Regions from separate parts of the Homo sapiens genome. Here region 2 is linked to region 1. The links are contacts of gene promoters, found by promoter capture Hi-C in blood cells and fetal thymus (Javierre and others, 2016). All regions are on one chromosome and are shown on one strand. The core of a region is centred on a gene start or on the middle of the fragment in contact, and the rest is flanking DNA. Distances in the headings are between cores, read along the strand shown. Region 1 holds the start of FSIP2-AS1 (FSIP2 antisense RNA 1). Region 2 has its middle 170 kb from the start of LINC01473.

Region 1 (7,594 bases), core at 1,709-4,208:
ATGAAGATAATGATTTTCCACTCACAAATGGCTGAAGATGTTTTTGACAGATATGTTTAATGATGAAACCTGCTATTCTATCTATAAGAATGTCATTACTGCTTGTGATATTTTGCACAGCTGATTCTTGAGAACCAGAGGTTTGCACAACATTTGCAAATACTGAATCAACAAGGTGCTGAATATCATCTTCTGAATAAATAAACTTGGTTTCTTCTTCCTCTTTTGAAAATCGAATTTCATGTTGGGAAACTTTCATCCTAATATCACTAACTAGGTTTGAAGCAATGTCATTGAAATTCACTCTTGATATATCTTTTTGGGTGTCTCTGTTTAGAACCAGGCTAGATGCAGAAGAAAATAATTTAGATAATAGTACTCTGATCATATCTTCTAAAAATGTGTATGGCAGCAAGGTGTTATATAGAGGTACACTCTGGCTTGGCTCAGTAGATTTACTGATGTTACTAAGGATGTCCTGAACAATATTCTCAGCCACTGAATTAGAATAGGTAGAAGCTGAAAAATCCCCAGAAAACAGTGGATGAAGAAGGTAATCTGAAATAGCTGCTACAATTAAATTGGTAATATTTTCCACAAAAATGCCACTGTCTTCAGACTCTTTATCAACAGCAAGGTCTAGCCCATGCTGCTTTAAAGCATTTCTATAAACTGAGGTGGCAAGTTCATCCACAATATCTGTATTGAAAGAAAAGAAAGCCTGTTCTTTGTCATCATAGAGAATGTGAATTTTAGCTTTATTGAAATGCCTATTTATGGAGTTTACTATTCTTTGGGTCATGTTTTTCAACTCAATTTCAGTGTTATGCTTTGGGCTGAAAATCTTTGACAAAAGTCTGGCAACAATCTCCCTTACAAATGAATCAAGGTGAATATCTAAAGGTGATTGCTTCTGAGGTCTGTGTGACTCTATCACTTCACTCAGAACCTGTGTAACAATAGTAGACACTGGATCCAGTGGAGTCCTTGGATGACATAAAACCTCTCCACTCAAAAATGGTTGAAGATGATTTTCGATAATCTCTTGGATGATAAAGCTGGCTATTTGGTCAATCATAATTGGGCTTCGGCTTACTATACTTTTTTGTATTGAAACAAGAGAGTCAGACATTTGCAAAATATTACAATATACAGAATCCACCATCTTTTGGAGGTTTTTTCCAGTATATAGATATTGATTATCATATATAGTGAACCAGATTTTATGTTTTGAAATGGCTGACATAACCTTATTTATTATACAAGTGGACATTTCATTAAAATCAGAACTCATTAAATATTTTTTTCCTAAAGAGGAACATGTAATGGGTGGAGGAATTAGCTGAGATAAAAGCCTTCTTATGACATCTTCTAAAAATGAATGTGATAACATGGTACTATAGTCTGATGAAGACCTGGGTAGAGAAGTAAATTCTGTTAGGTTACTTTGAAGCTTTTGCAATATAATTTCAGGTTTGAGAGGGTAATATGAATGGGGTATGAGATGTTCCTTGAAGCAAGATGGCAGTTTGTAGTCTAAAATCTCTAACAATATGCCATTTGTTATTTGTTCTGCTATTGAGGCATTGTCGTATACCGGATTATTACCACAGGCCACTTTTAATTCATACTGCTGTAAAACATCATAATAAACTGAGTCAACAATTTTGCTAACAGTTTCTGTATGAACTGGTGGAAAACACAGCCTTTCTTCAGCATTCCGTAGAACAGTGACTTGAGCATTATTAAATTCATTCACTACATTGTTGACAAATAATGTATTCATCTCATTGAGCCAGGACACAGTGATGTTTTTATTTTTGCCCCACAATGACATAGAGAGATTAAAAAACAATTCTGAAATTATTCCTTCCAAAAATGTGGCTGAATAAACACCAGCATATATACCTTCCTGATGTAGCTTATTATGAATGGCTACCTTATCCATTTCCTTTGTTCTCTGTCTTTCAAAAGGTGACACAGAAGAGGATTTTACTGCACAATGCTTGTTAAATGGTGCTTGTATTTTGGAGCTAACCACACTGGGATTATTCAGGGATACTGTCAAAGAATTACTATCATAGCTCCTGAGTTCTAAAGAACTTTTACTCTGTCCTAATTCTATTAATTCTGACTTTCTTGCTTTTATGAAACTAGACTGTATTTCTCTTGTTCTGTAGTTCAAATGCTTATTTGCAAAAGGTAGACTTTCCGGAGCTTGTTGTATGCTGTGAGATAATTTGTCCATCAATGATTTAACCAAGCTGTGGGAAATAATAGTAAGCATAGAGTCTGATGTCAATAAGTCTTGATCAATTTCTGCCACATTCTCCAAAAGGTCTGACATGTAATCTACTTGAAGGCATTCACAGTCCATTCCTCCCTTACGATAATCAGATTTTCCATCTTCTACACTTTGAAGCATTTTTAAAAGTTGACATTCTTCTGCTGATGTTTCCTCTGAAACAGACCCTTTATCAGGAAAAGCAGTGCTTGTGCATTCTTCCAAAAGTATTCTGATAAGTTTCTCACATACAACATTGAGAAGAAAAACTGATTTTGAGGAGAGCTGTAGGTTATTGGTAAGTATGCTATTAGGTTGCTCATTATTCGAGGAGTAGAAATATGTTCTTTGTATTTTACCAGAATCCATACCCGTATCTAGGCATTCATCTGGTGAAAATAAATCTGAAACAATATTAAAAACTTTATTGACTACTTCTTTGGATTCACTTGTTTTTAGGTTACCAACCAGGCTGTTTAACTTACATGCAAGATAACTTAACTTATTTTTTTGAAAAAGTTGACCAATTTGTTGAGTAGAAAATTGCCAGTCTCTGGGGCTTGCCTGTCTATTGATTTTGTTGCAAAGGGGTACACTATTATTTCTATGCATAGAAAATGATTTGTTTCTTACATTGCTTTCAAAGTGATAATCTACTTCTATTTCTTTGGACAGTACATGAATCACTCCTACTAAGAGATCCTGAAAGAGGTCATCAAAGCCACCAGAAACTATTCCTGGACAGTAAGTGTATTTTGTAGGTATGGCAACCATTTTCTGTGCAATGTCAGCCTGTATAATTTTATTATTAAAAAGAATTTTAATAATGATTTCAGAAATACATAAAGCAAGTTCTCCAATGGAAATTGACCTGCTCTCAAACACTTGAGAATGAATTGAAATAATCTTGCTAAATGTTGCTTCTTGAATTTCCCATGCTTTCTCTTTTTCTCTACCCTTTTTGGTGCCATCAGAAATGCTCGAAGTTAAATGGTAAAGTACTGACTCAGTGAGATGTTCACAACATTGATAAATTGAAGAATCATCGTATATGTTTCTTAGGAACTGTTTTGATTCATATTTTTTCCTTGACCATGTAGAAACAGACATCTTTTCCTCACTAAAAACTTAAAAAAGGAAACATTGTAATTTTAGCATGGATTAAAGAAAATATAGAAAATTCAATATATTTGAAATTATTATTTACATATATATTTCACCCTTTGAGCAACTCACTAAAGAAAAATCTAAACAAAAAAAGAAATTAGATTTTCCTCAAACATTTATTTTCTCACCTTGCAAAATCTTAATTTTAGCCAATAAATTGAGAAAATAACACCCCAAAATTCAATCCTCTAAGTCAAATGCTGATGTCTGCCTTGGTTGGATGGTTATGAACTCTTAAGAAGCTGGAAAGCTTGGGGCAGAGAAATAATTTCCAGGCTTAGCGATGCATCCTACCATGTCTCCAGTGATACCTAGAGGTGCCATATAATTATTTTAAAATAGCTTTAGACAAAACATTTAATGTTATGCTATGTTTTACTTTTAGGACATTAAGGAGTTGTGTTGCAATATCAAGTTGACTAAAATAAAAGTGTGGCAACTCCAGAAAAGCTAGTAATAGATTGCAATAGCAGTAGTACTTTAGTCCCTAGATTATAGTTTGTCACAAAGAAGGAAGGTTGGCCCAGCCAGGTGAAGAACTCTATATTTGTTTTGTCCAAAATTCTATTTGTTACAAATCATTACCTATTTGCAATGGCCAACTGCTGGGTGTGGCAGCCAAGAGCAACACAGTTTTTTTCCTCAGAACTTAATTATATATTATATATCTTCATGTGTTATCAGGCAAGACTCTACACAGATAGAAGACTTTAAGCTGAGCTTTGACTGCTACACAGGTTTTGGCCATGTCAAGATACAGGGAATGAGGAAAAGGTATTCCTAGTGGAAGAAGGAACATGAGCGAAGTCACTGGAAGACCTTGGAGATGTCTGAGAATAGGAATATAGAATTGTTAGAGCCAAGTGTCAATGTGATGAAATCATGGATCTTCTCTTGCTTGTTTTGCTTTTGTTTATTTTTCTGAAATCAATTAAGTCATGCCTGGAGTAAGTCTATTTAAGAGTTTGTAGTTGTAGCTACATTACCGTCCATCTTGGGAGAATACTGGTTTTAAGGATGGAAAATAACCTCCTCGTGCAGGTGGGTAGGACTGCTAATATCTCCAATTAGAATGATGTGTGATGTATCTGGACTGGTGATGTAGCAAGTAATTATTGGTAACTGAAACTACTGACCTAGATCTGGGGTATTATAGTAATACTAAACTGAATTTTATTAATTGTCAATAATCAACTGTTTTTGATATACAAAATGACGATTACATGTTGTTTCACCTAATATATACACATGAGTATACTTAGAAAGATAATGCAAATATAATCCCTGTAATGATACAGTTGGAGTATTATATCTAAAAGGAATTTAAGTCAGAATACTGGAATGCAAATAAAACAAGATATTCAATTCTACTGTTCTTTTAAACTTTGAATAATAATAACAAAGCCTTCAAGAATACAAAAATTAAATGACTTTTAATCAGTTAACTGCACATCCCATATGATTATAAAGAAGTTATGCATAAGAATTTTAAAAACCCTTCCAAATTTATGCCTCATGCTCAACCAAAATCTCCTGCTTTAAAATGGCCTCATTTTCTCTCATTTGTAGATAGAGAAAACTGAGCAACACATCCTTCAAATTCAAATCCTGAAAACATTTATTTATTTTTATTTTTTTGCATTGTGATGAATTAAAAAGCAATTGAGGCTGAGCACAGTGGCTCATGCCAGTAATCCCAACACTTTGAGGGGCCGAGAAAGAAGGATCACATGAGGCCAGGAGTTTGAGACCAGCCTGCGCAACATAGCAAAACCCTGTCTCTACAAAAAGATTTTTAAAAATTAGAGTGCAGTGGCATGCCTGTGGTCCCAGCTATTTTGGGGGAAGGCTGAGATGGGAGGATGTCTTCAGTCCAGGAGTTCAAGGCTGCAGGAAGCAATGATCATGCCACTGTACTCTAGCCTCAGTGACAGAGACACTATTTCTAAATAAAATAAAATAATACATTTAAAATAAAATTAAAGTGCAACTCAGTAGTCATCTACCTCCAAGGGTATTTTCAGAAAAATAGTGAATACAGCTTTTTAGACAGGAGATCTTTTAAACATGTCTTTTACTGGTTTTCTTCCTAAATCATGCAAATTTTTAGGTACGTTCTCTCTTGCTTACCTGTAGTTTCAAAGTTCTTCAAATATGTGACCACAGATGTGGTGACATGTCTTGCTATCAGATGAACTTCATTGGAACCCATTTCATGATCAGCAAAAGTAAAGGCTTCAACTTCCTTCACAGTCTCTATCTTTGGGTACTCCTTTTTTTTCAATTTTTGCAAAAAAGAAGAATCTTCCCGGCTGGCTTCAAGGTTTTCATTTTCTTCCTCAGGTATATAGTTGATTTTTTTATCCTGCATTCTAAGCAAACTTTTTTCGTTATCCTTTTGCCCTCCAGATACTTCAGATAAAGAGCTTTGTTTTGATATGAAAAATGGTTTCATTATTTCCCTGTTCTCATTAGTGTGTGGTTGACTTGGAAAGCCACAGCTGGATAGCACAGTATTGACAATATTTTCTGCAGCTAAACATATTTTGAGAGGGGAAATGGTTGTCTGAATTTGGTTTGGTTCAACAACTGGTTTTAGGTTCTCATAATGAAACACTCTTAGATTTTCACCTTTTCCCATTTCTATGAATGACAAGACTTGCTTTAATGCTGCTTCTGTGGAGTCACTTGCTTTCCTAAGCAGCTTTTGTAAGAAACTGCCTTCAGGGAGGTAGCTATTTCCTTTCATGGTCTGATCAAAACTACCAAAGTTAGATTCCCTTGGTCTGTGGTCTTGTACTTTGTTTCTAGTAGAACACGATGGCATAGTTTCTGAATCAGGCCTTTTCGTTGGCTCTGAGTTTTTAACTGTGTCTTCTACAGAGGATCTGACAGAGGTGGGTAAATCTGATGAAACCCTGTACTTTTCTTTCATATCTTCATCTGAACAAAACACAAACCCAGTTTTACTCACTTGTGAAGGATTAATCCCCAAACTACCTTCCTTTAACTTTGATGTGAACATTTTCATATTAGTTGCTAATTCAACCTGATTAACAGTGTAGGCATTTTCAGCTCCTTGGAACAAACTTTCTCTTGAAAGGTTTTGTATCAAAGACTCATTGAAATAAGTACACTGGTCCATTAGTGTGCCAATGATCTCACTTGCTACAATGTTCTCTTTCAATATGCTAATTGAAGATGGTTCCATTTGGCTTATTTCGTTGTCTAGCTTGTTCTTAATTACAGCAAGCATGTCACTGATGATATTAACAGCATATGTAAGTAATTGTGAATGGAATGAATGAACCCGTAGAAGGATATTCTGTATGTTTTCCTTGAAATTAATAGTATTTGACTCGGATTTATCAGAAAACATTTTCAGTGGTTGTAATTTTGGCAACATTTTTTTGTTTAACAGTTTCTGTTGGATAGAAGAAAGGTTTTCTATAGGCATTTTCACAATTTCAGAAAACTCATATTTGGAGATATGTTTAAACTGCAAGTCCACAAATGACTCTAACATGTTTAAAACCGTTTCTACAATCTCTTGAACAATTTGGTTGCTGGAGCCCACAGAAATTTGGTCTTTTGTCTTTGTGTTATAGATTGGTAAACTGCTGAGGCTATGCTTGTTTGGAAAACCATATTTACTTTTAGCAGTAATGTGTTCTTTACTGTTTGATAGAGTTTCTTCACTATCTGGAGTGGGAATTTGGGACAGAAAGCATAGCTGTAGTTTTTCAAGTAGCATTTCAACAATTTCCCTTCCAAACATATTAATTTGTGCTTTAGTATCCTCGGCTCTAGTAGAAGCTCCTTTAAAATGATTATAAAACCTGCTTTCACAATTCTCAAGAGGGGGCAAATTTAAAAGTGAAAGAGAATATTCTAATTCTTTTGCTTTTATTGAAATTTCAGTCAAAACATTTTCAGCTATCATCAATAGCTTACATTTTTCATTTTCCTTGTCATTTGATTCTGTTTGCCACTTGTCAAACAATTTTTTAAATATACCTTCTCTAGGAAAAATGTGCTCTAGCTGTGAAGAAACATTCTCCAAGTAAAAACATGCTTGTTGTTTAGGAAGGGATCCTGTGCCTATATTCCCCTGTGAAAGTCTGAGATGTGAGGATTTCATCG
Region 2 (7,594 bases), core at 2,440-4,939, 450 kb before region 1:
TTGTTTTTAACGAATAATTTCTAATAGGAAGTTAAGTTTGCATTAGTCTTTGGTTAGAATTCTCTGGTATTTATTATACTTAATTGATTTATGACAAGTATATGTAGTACCCTCCATCTTTTGTAGTAAGAGAGGTTCAAGAAAATCACCTTGAAATTACTGAGGTCACCCTTCCCCTATAGTCTGGGGAAAGGGATCATAAGATAAGTATTTTATATTTAGCTGCCAGTGCCTGGCTCAGTCCTCATGGAAGAGATTGCTATCCTGGGACCCTGGGGTTGAAATCACCACAACCAGTCTGAATGCAGTGCTGCTCTGGGTTGGCTGCCTGTACTAGGAGAGGGTTGCATAGGTGAAATGAGAGTTTAGCACTAAGAACAGCACCCTTAAAGCATCCCCAGGGACCACGATGCTCTGCATAGGAATAGATAGAATTTTATGAAAAAAGTCAGAGAGGAAAGGAATATCACTAGCATTAGGCTCATCCTCCTCCCAGACCACCAAATCTCTCTCACTGCTCACTAGAAATGACTTGAAAATATCATTTTGGTGAAATTTTCTCTTTTTTATTATTTATTTCAGTGGTCACTAAATTTCCTAGAAAGTGAAATTTCCATAGCAGATGCTTAAAAACCAGACTTGTTTATTGTGTCAAGTGAATTTTTAAGGTCAGTTAATTTCATCAATTAACCAGTCATAAATTTGTTTTGAAAAAAATAAGTATGTTCTTTTATTATGTTTTATTCTAAAAAACTTAAATTGGAATTTTGATGGTATCTATTAAAAGATGATTTACTACTGATTCAGGGATATTTCCCATAGTATCTTTAGGCAAGCAAAGCATGTTTTGATTAGAAAAGGAGTTAAGACATGGTTTCAAAGCGTTGGCCCAAACATCTATATTCCAGTCAACCAGAAGATGTCACTATTGTGTACAGAATGTGTAAAAGAAAAAAGTATACTGTAGTTACATTGTGTGTCTCCTAATCTTGCTAAATTTTCTCTGGAGTCTCATGAAGGAAGCACTGTCTTCAAGTTGACAGGCACTGAAAAACTACTACATTCATTGGATGGGTGTGCCAGTTACATTCCCACATTATTCATTTGAAAAAAAAATAATAAAACTACATTGGCAGAAAATATTCCAACTCAATAATTTTGTACAGTGCTAACTGGAAATTAATAACCATGCAATATATCTGTTTTGGTTCTAGCAACAGAGTGTGTCTATTATAAGTAAATTTAGCAGACATTAATTAAGAAAAATCAAACTGTTTCACAAATGACTTTGATTAAACTAATTGTTCACTTAAAGCAGAGAAAATAAACTGCCAAAATATACACTTTAACCTAAGATTAATGGATGTCACTAATAGAATGCCTTCTTAACACTTTCATCTGTTAAATCAGAGTTCTTTTTATAATGAGAGTGCTGTTGACACCTCTGTACTTGTTATGAGACATTTTGTAAGAGAAGTTTACTGCAATCTTTGCAAAATCCTTTATAGGCAAGGAAACAAGATTGGTGGGAAGCTTGTTTGTAGGTATAGAACTTTCCCAGATGTATTTACTTAAGAAGCAAACAGTGAAGACACGCAGATGTAAATTAGATCCCAGGTGCCATTAGCATGGTAATGTGGGCCAAACAGCTGGGCTTAATTCAGGTCACTGACTGGTTTGACCGGTAGGATGTCAAAGGCAAGGCAATTAGGCCGAATCAGGAATGTTTCCCAGTGAGTTAGTATGTATGTATGTATGTATGTATTTATTTATTTGGAGACAGAGTTTCACTCTTGTTGCCCAGGCTAGAGTGCAATGGTGTGACCTCGGCTCACTGCAACCTCTGCCTCCCAGGTTCAAGCGATTCTCCTGCCTCAGCCTCCTGTGTAGCTGGGATTACAGGCGCCGGCCACCAACATGGCTGGGTTTTTTTTTTTTTTTTTGAGACAGAGTTTTGCTTTTGTTCCCCAGAGTGGAGTGCAATGGCATGATCTCGGCTCAAGGCAACCTCTGCCTTCCTGGTTCAAGCAATTCTCCTGCTTCAGCCTACCAAGTAGCTGGGATTACAGGCATGTGCCACCATGCCCAGCTGATTTTGTATTTTTAGTAGAGACAGGGTTTCTCCATGTTGGTCAGGCTGGTCTTGAACCCCCAACCTCAGGTGATCCACCTGCCTTGACCTCCCAAAGTGCTGGGATTACAGGCGTGAGCCTCCATACCCGGCCTAATTTTTGTATTTTTAATAGAAATGGAGTTTTACCACATTGGCCAGACTGCCCTCGAACTCCTGACCTCAGGTAATCTGCCTGCCTCAGCCTCCCAAAGTGCTGGGATTACAGGTGTGAGCGACCGTTGACTGGCCTAGTACTTATTTTTTTTTCATGAACTGTTTTGTTATTTTGCCCTTCTCCTCATTTAGGTTCATTTTGACATCTACCTTTTGTCCATGTATTGATTCATTGAGAGAAAATGATAGGTTTTTAAATTTTTAAAAAGTACTCCCTTTTCTGGCTTAGTTAGTAAAAGCAATCAACTATTTTTTTTTAAATAGGGATATTAAAACTTAAAAGGCAATTGCAATTTACATTTAGCTAATGCTTATCAAGTGTTGCTTAATATGTACCAGGTACTATGCCAAGTGATTTACATGGAGTACCTCCTCCTAACATATCTATGAGGCAGGTTCTGTTATTATTCCTATCTTACATATGAGGAAATTGAAACACAGATAGGGTTAGTAAATTATCCAGCATTACTGTGCTAAAGAGAGGCAGAGCTGGCATTCAAACCCGGAAAGTCTGACATCAGAGACACATTTAACCCAACTATTCCATATTGCTTCTCTGAAATATATAAAATACATTTGGTTGTGGTTACGTCTCTATTGTAAAATTTGTTTCCATTTTCTGCTGAGAGTTAAGAGCAAGTGGAAAGAGGTTTTCACAGTCCTTCCTTACCTACCAATACGGACTGAATGAATTGATACTATTAAATCTTGGTATTGATTTTATTTTTTCCATTCATCTTGCATATTTTTATTTGTCTTGAATATTTAGAAGAAGCAGGGAACTTTGAATCTTTCTTTGGTATATAATTTCTTATTCTTAGAAAAAGAAGAAAATTGTTAGTGAAGAATTATTAGAACGTAGAGGTCTTTGAGTTGTGATGTCATTTAAGAAGAAAAGAAATTTGATTTCTTGTCTTTTCTAGATTTGTGAGCAATAGAATCCATTTGAAAGGCTTGGATTAGAGTGAATATTTTGGCTGCAGAAATTTACAAAGTGTATTGACCTATATATGCTTACAGTATATTACTTGGGACCTAATGTAACAAGTAGATACTTGATCAGTTTAAAGATGAACTTTAAACAATGAATTCTAACATGTATTTCTACAAAGAATTTTTACTGTAAAACAAAATAGAAACAACTTAAGGTAAATATCCATGTTATTATTTTTATGGCTTATTGATTCCAACAACAACTTGAGAGTCTATTTAGATTACTTAATTGAGATTAGAGGTGATGAATTACTTATTACTCCAATGCAGTAGTTTTTTTAGTGACAATCAGAGATTTTCAGATGATAAGACTATTAGGCAGTCCACTTGAGCCACTTGCTGTAGTGATGTATAACATACATGTATGGCAGGAAAAAACCAAGTCAGAATACCTTATTTCTTAGGAAATTTATACATTAAAAGATGAGTGCCATTTTGAATAAGTAGATTGTTAAACAAATATTTATTGGTCACCTTTGTATCAAGTAAAATAACTTAGTGATGGATACATGATAGGACAAGTCCTCATCTTATAAACTGTGTTTATTTCTTTTTTTTATTATACTTTAAGTTTTACGGTACATGTGCACAATGTGCAGATTAGTTACATATGTATACATGTGCCATGTTGGTGTGCTGCACCCATTAACTCATCATTTAACATTAGGTATATCTCCTAATGCTATCCCTCGCGCCACCCCACAACAGTCCCCAGTGTGTGATGTTCCCCTTCCTGTGTCCATGTGTCCTCATTGTTCAATTCCCACCTATGAGTGAGAACATGCAGTGTTTGGTTTTTTGTCCTTGTGAGAGTTTGCTGAGAATAATGGTTTCTAGCTTCATCCATGTCCCTACAAAGGACATGAACTCATCATTTTTTATGGCTGCATAGTATTCCATGGTGTATATGTGCCACATTTTCTTAATCCAGTCTATCATTGTTGGACATTTGGCTAGGTTCCAAGTCTTCGCTATTGTGAATAGTGCCGCAATAAACATACGTGTGCATGTGTCTTTATAGCAGCATGATTTATAATCCTTTGGGCATATACCCAGTAATGGGATTGCTGGGTCAAATGGTATTTCTAGTTCTAGATCCCTGAGGAATCGCCACACTGACTTCCACAATGGTTGAACTAGTTTACAGTCCCACCAACAGTGTAAAAGTGTTCCTATTTCTCCACATCCTCTCCAGCACCTGTTGTTTCCTGACTTTTTAATGATTGCCATTCTAACTGGTGTGAGATGGTATCTCATTGTGGTTTTGATTTGCATTTCTCTGAGGGCCAGTTCTGATGAGCATTTTTTCATGTGTCTTTTGGCTGCATAAATGTCTTCTTTTGAGAAGTGTCTGTTCATATCCTTCACCCACTTTTTGATGGGGTTGTTTTTTTCTTGTAAATTTGTTTGAGTTCATTGTAGATTCTGGATATTAGCCCTTTGACAGGTGAGTAGATTGCAAAAATTTTCTCCCATTTTGTAGGTTGCCTGTTCACTCTGATGGTAGTTTCTTTTGCTGTGCAGAATTCTGCTCTTTAGTTCAATTAGATCCCATTTGTCAATTTTGACTTTTGTTGCCATTGCTTTTGGTGTTTTAGACATGAAGTCCTTGCCCATGCCTATGTCCTGAATGGTATTGGCTAGGTGTTCTTCTAGGGTTTTTATGGTTTTAGGTCTAACATTTAAGTCTTTAATCCATCTTGAATGAATTTTTGTATAAGGTGTAAGGAAGGGATCCAGTTTCAGCTTTCCACATATGGCTAGCCAGTTTTCCCAGCACTATTTGTTAAATAGGGAGTCATTTCCCCATTGCTTGTTTTTCTCAGGTTTGTCAAAGATCAGATGGTTGTAGATATGTGGCATTATTTCTGAGGGCTCTGTTCTGTTCCATTGGTCTATATCTCTATTTTGGTACCAGTACCATGCTGTTTTGGTTACTGTAGCCTTGTAGTATAGTTTGAATGGATAAATTTCTCAACGCATACACCCTCCCAAGACTAAACCAGGAAGAAGTTGAATCTCTGAATAGAACAATAACAGGCTCTGAAATTGAGGCAATAATTAATAGCTTACCAACCAAAAAAAATCCAGGACCAGATGGATTCACAGCCGAATTCTACCAGAGGTACAAGGAGGAGCTGGTACCATTCCTTCTGAAACTATTCCAATCAATAGAAAAAGAGGGAATCCTCCCTCATTCATTTTATGAGGTCAGCATCATCTTGATACCAAAGCCTGGCAGAGACACAACAAAAAAAAGAGAATTTTAGACCAATATTCCTGATGAACATCAATGCAAAACTGTGTTTATTTCTATCTTGAAAGTTTATAGAGTATATAATTCCTCTTATTGCTTCATTCTGTCCATAGAGTAGATAATCTTGGATAAGAAGTCTGATTCCTTACAGAGTGTTTGGTCTAATTGGGGAAGCAAACCATATCTCTATATATTTATGTGTCTAGAGATCTATGAAAATATAACTAATAATTCAAGAAAAAAGAAGATAAAGCTAGGTGAATTATATAATTGGATCTGTATGCTTTCAGGGGAGAAAGAAAGCTTACTTAGACTGAGGAGACCAGGGATAACTTCATGGGTGATATGGGTCTTGAACTGGGTCTTGAAAACTTGATAAGGTTTGAAAAGTAGGAACAGCCAAAGGTGATTTCTAGAAAGAGACAGATGTTAAGAGGCAGGGCTCAGGAAGGAATGGTATTAGGTAATTCTGGTTAAGTCAGATAACTTATAACTTTTGATTGATTAAATGCAAACCAATTTCTATTAGTAGAAATTCTCTTTAGAGTATACATCATACTGTATTCAGATCTATTAATTATAATCTATTATGATTGCTTTGGGTTGAAGAATTTTATATTAATTCCAATTTGATACTGCTGAAGAGAAAATAATTGTTTTTATTATGTTTTGCAATAGGAGAAGAATATATGTTTCTAATCAATTAAATTAAACTGGTAATTTAATTTTATATGTGTGTTCAATAGTATATAGCTCCAATATTGCTGGGATCAAATTTGAGATAAAATTCGCTCTGAAATGGAATCTCCTGGAACCATCATGGATTATAAATTGATAAAGCTAATGTTTTTTCCTCTATATCAAGGATACAGTTTGAACAGTGTCTTCTTGGAACTGAAGGAGATATTAGAGTACAAAATGTGGAGACATTTTTGGAGTATTACTGAAAATGGAACTCTATTAATCTAATACCCTCTCCTAATTACTATAGCAACAAAATAACATCATTCTCTGAATGAGGGAACAATCCTGATATAAAAATGAAATTAAGAAGTAGAAAACAAGTTTTTAACTTCAATGTGAAATTTGATATTTATCTTACTTTCTGCTATAGGGATAATTCTAATATTATGTCATAGTTACATAAGCAGGACTATGTTGAAGTAATTTTAATAAGTGACCACACAGTACTTGTTACTGTTCAGTTGTGCATACTAAATTATCGTTAACTTTTGTTAGCAGCTGATATATTGAAATGACTTTGGGTGATTATAATACAATACAAATTTTTGTCAAAATAATTGCAACAATTGAGAAGAAATTACTTTAATGGAGTAAAAAAGTGTGGATCTAAAAAACAGACTCTAACAAAATATATTTTTCCTTTAGTGCTCAACAAAATTTAGTTATTTTGATGCTTAGATGAAGCCTGGGATGAAGATTATACAAAATGCCATATTTTGAGAAATTTGGATAGTTTATCCCAATTTAATTACAATTACAAGCATGGATGATTTTAAATATATTTTACTTACCAAATATTGATAAAAATTTGAATTTTCAAAACCTGTTATCAATATTCAGTCAGAAGGTTATTCTTAAAATCATACTTAGCTTTAAGTTAATTGCTGTGGTAAGTCACAGAACCAATTTAATCAAACTAGAGTCTACTTAAGGTGTTATGATGGCCATAAAACATTAGTAATTCTGGCACTTACAGAAAGTGTCCTTCAATGTTTCAGGGACTATTACAGTTTCTTGATGTTTAACTGTCACATGAAGAGAGACTTTGTAGGACCAGAAATGGAAATTAGACCACCATTTGTTAAACAATACAAAAGAGGTTATTCAGAATTTTGTCCACTGTGGTAGTACTACAGGCATGAGCATTACTGTCTATGTAAATACGGTCACATTCCTCTCAAAAGTAGCTTATTTTACTCTTTACTGAAAACTCTATAATTTTAAGGCCTGGCCAAATATTCTACATCTTCTGGAATTTTTATTTGATTCTATCAGTTCTATTCTCTACCACATTCAGATGGTTGTGGAAATAT

Evidence for each region. The method cuts DNA at HindIII sites, captures the fragments that hold promoters and counts their contacts. A CHiCAGO score of 5 or more calls a contact.
Region 2: a fragment that was not itself captured here is called in contact with the fragment with the promoter of FSIP2-AS1 in region 1 in 2 of 17 cell types (M1 macrophages and erythroblasts); the score reaches 5.8 in M1 macrophages.

Annotation. Positions count from the first base shown.
Region 1 is chr2:185,795,514-185,803,107 of GRCh38, reverse strand. FSIP2-AS1 (FSIP2 antisense RNA 1) reads left to right here and starts at 2,958. Exons shown (of 3, transcript NR_144453.1): 1 at 2,958-3,028. FSIP2 (fibrous sheath interacting protein 2) reads right to left here. Exons shown (of 23, transcript NM_173651.4): 16 at 5,582-7,594; 17 at 1-3,411. The HindIII fragment of the contact is 2,248 bases long and covers 1,456-3,703 here.
Region 2 is chr2:186,250,073-186,257,666 of GRCh38, reverse strand. No RefSeq gene overlaps it. Among named protein-coding and RNA genes, the nearest start is that of LINC01473, 170 kb to the right of the region's middle. RefSeq lists an enhancer at 1,325-1,981. The HindIII fragment of the contact is 4,307 bases long and covers 1,536-5,842 here.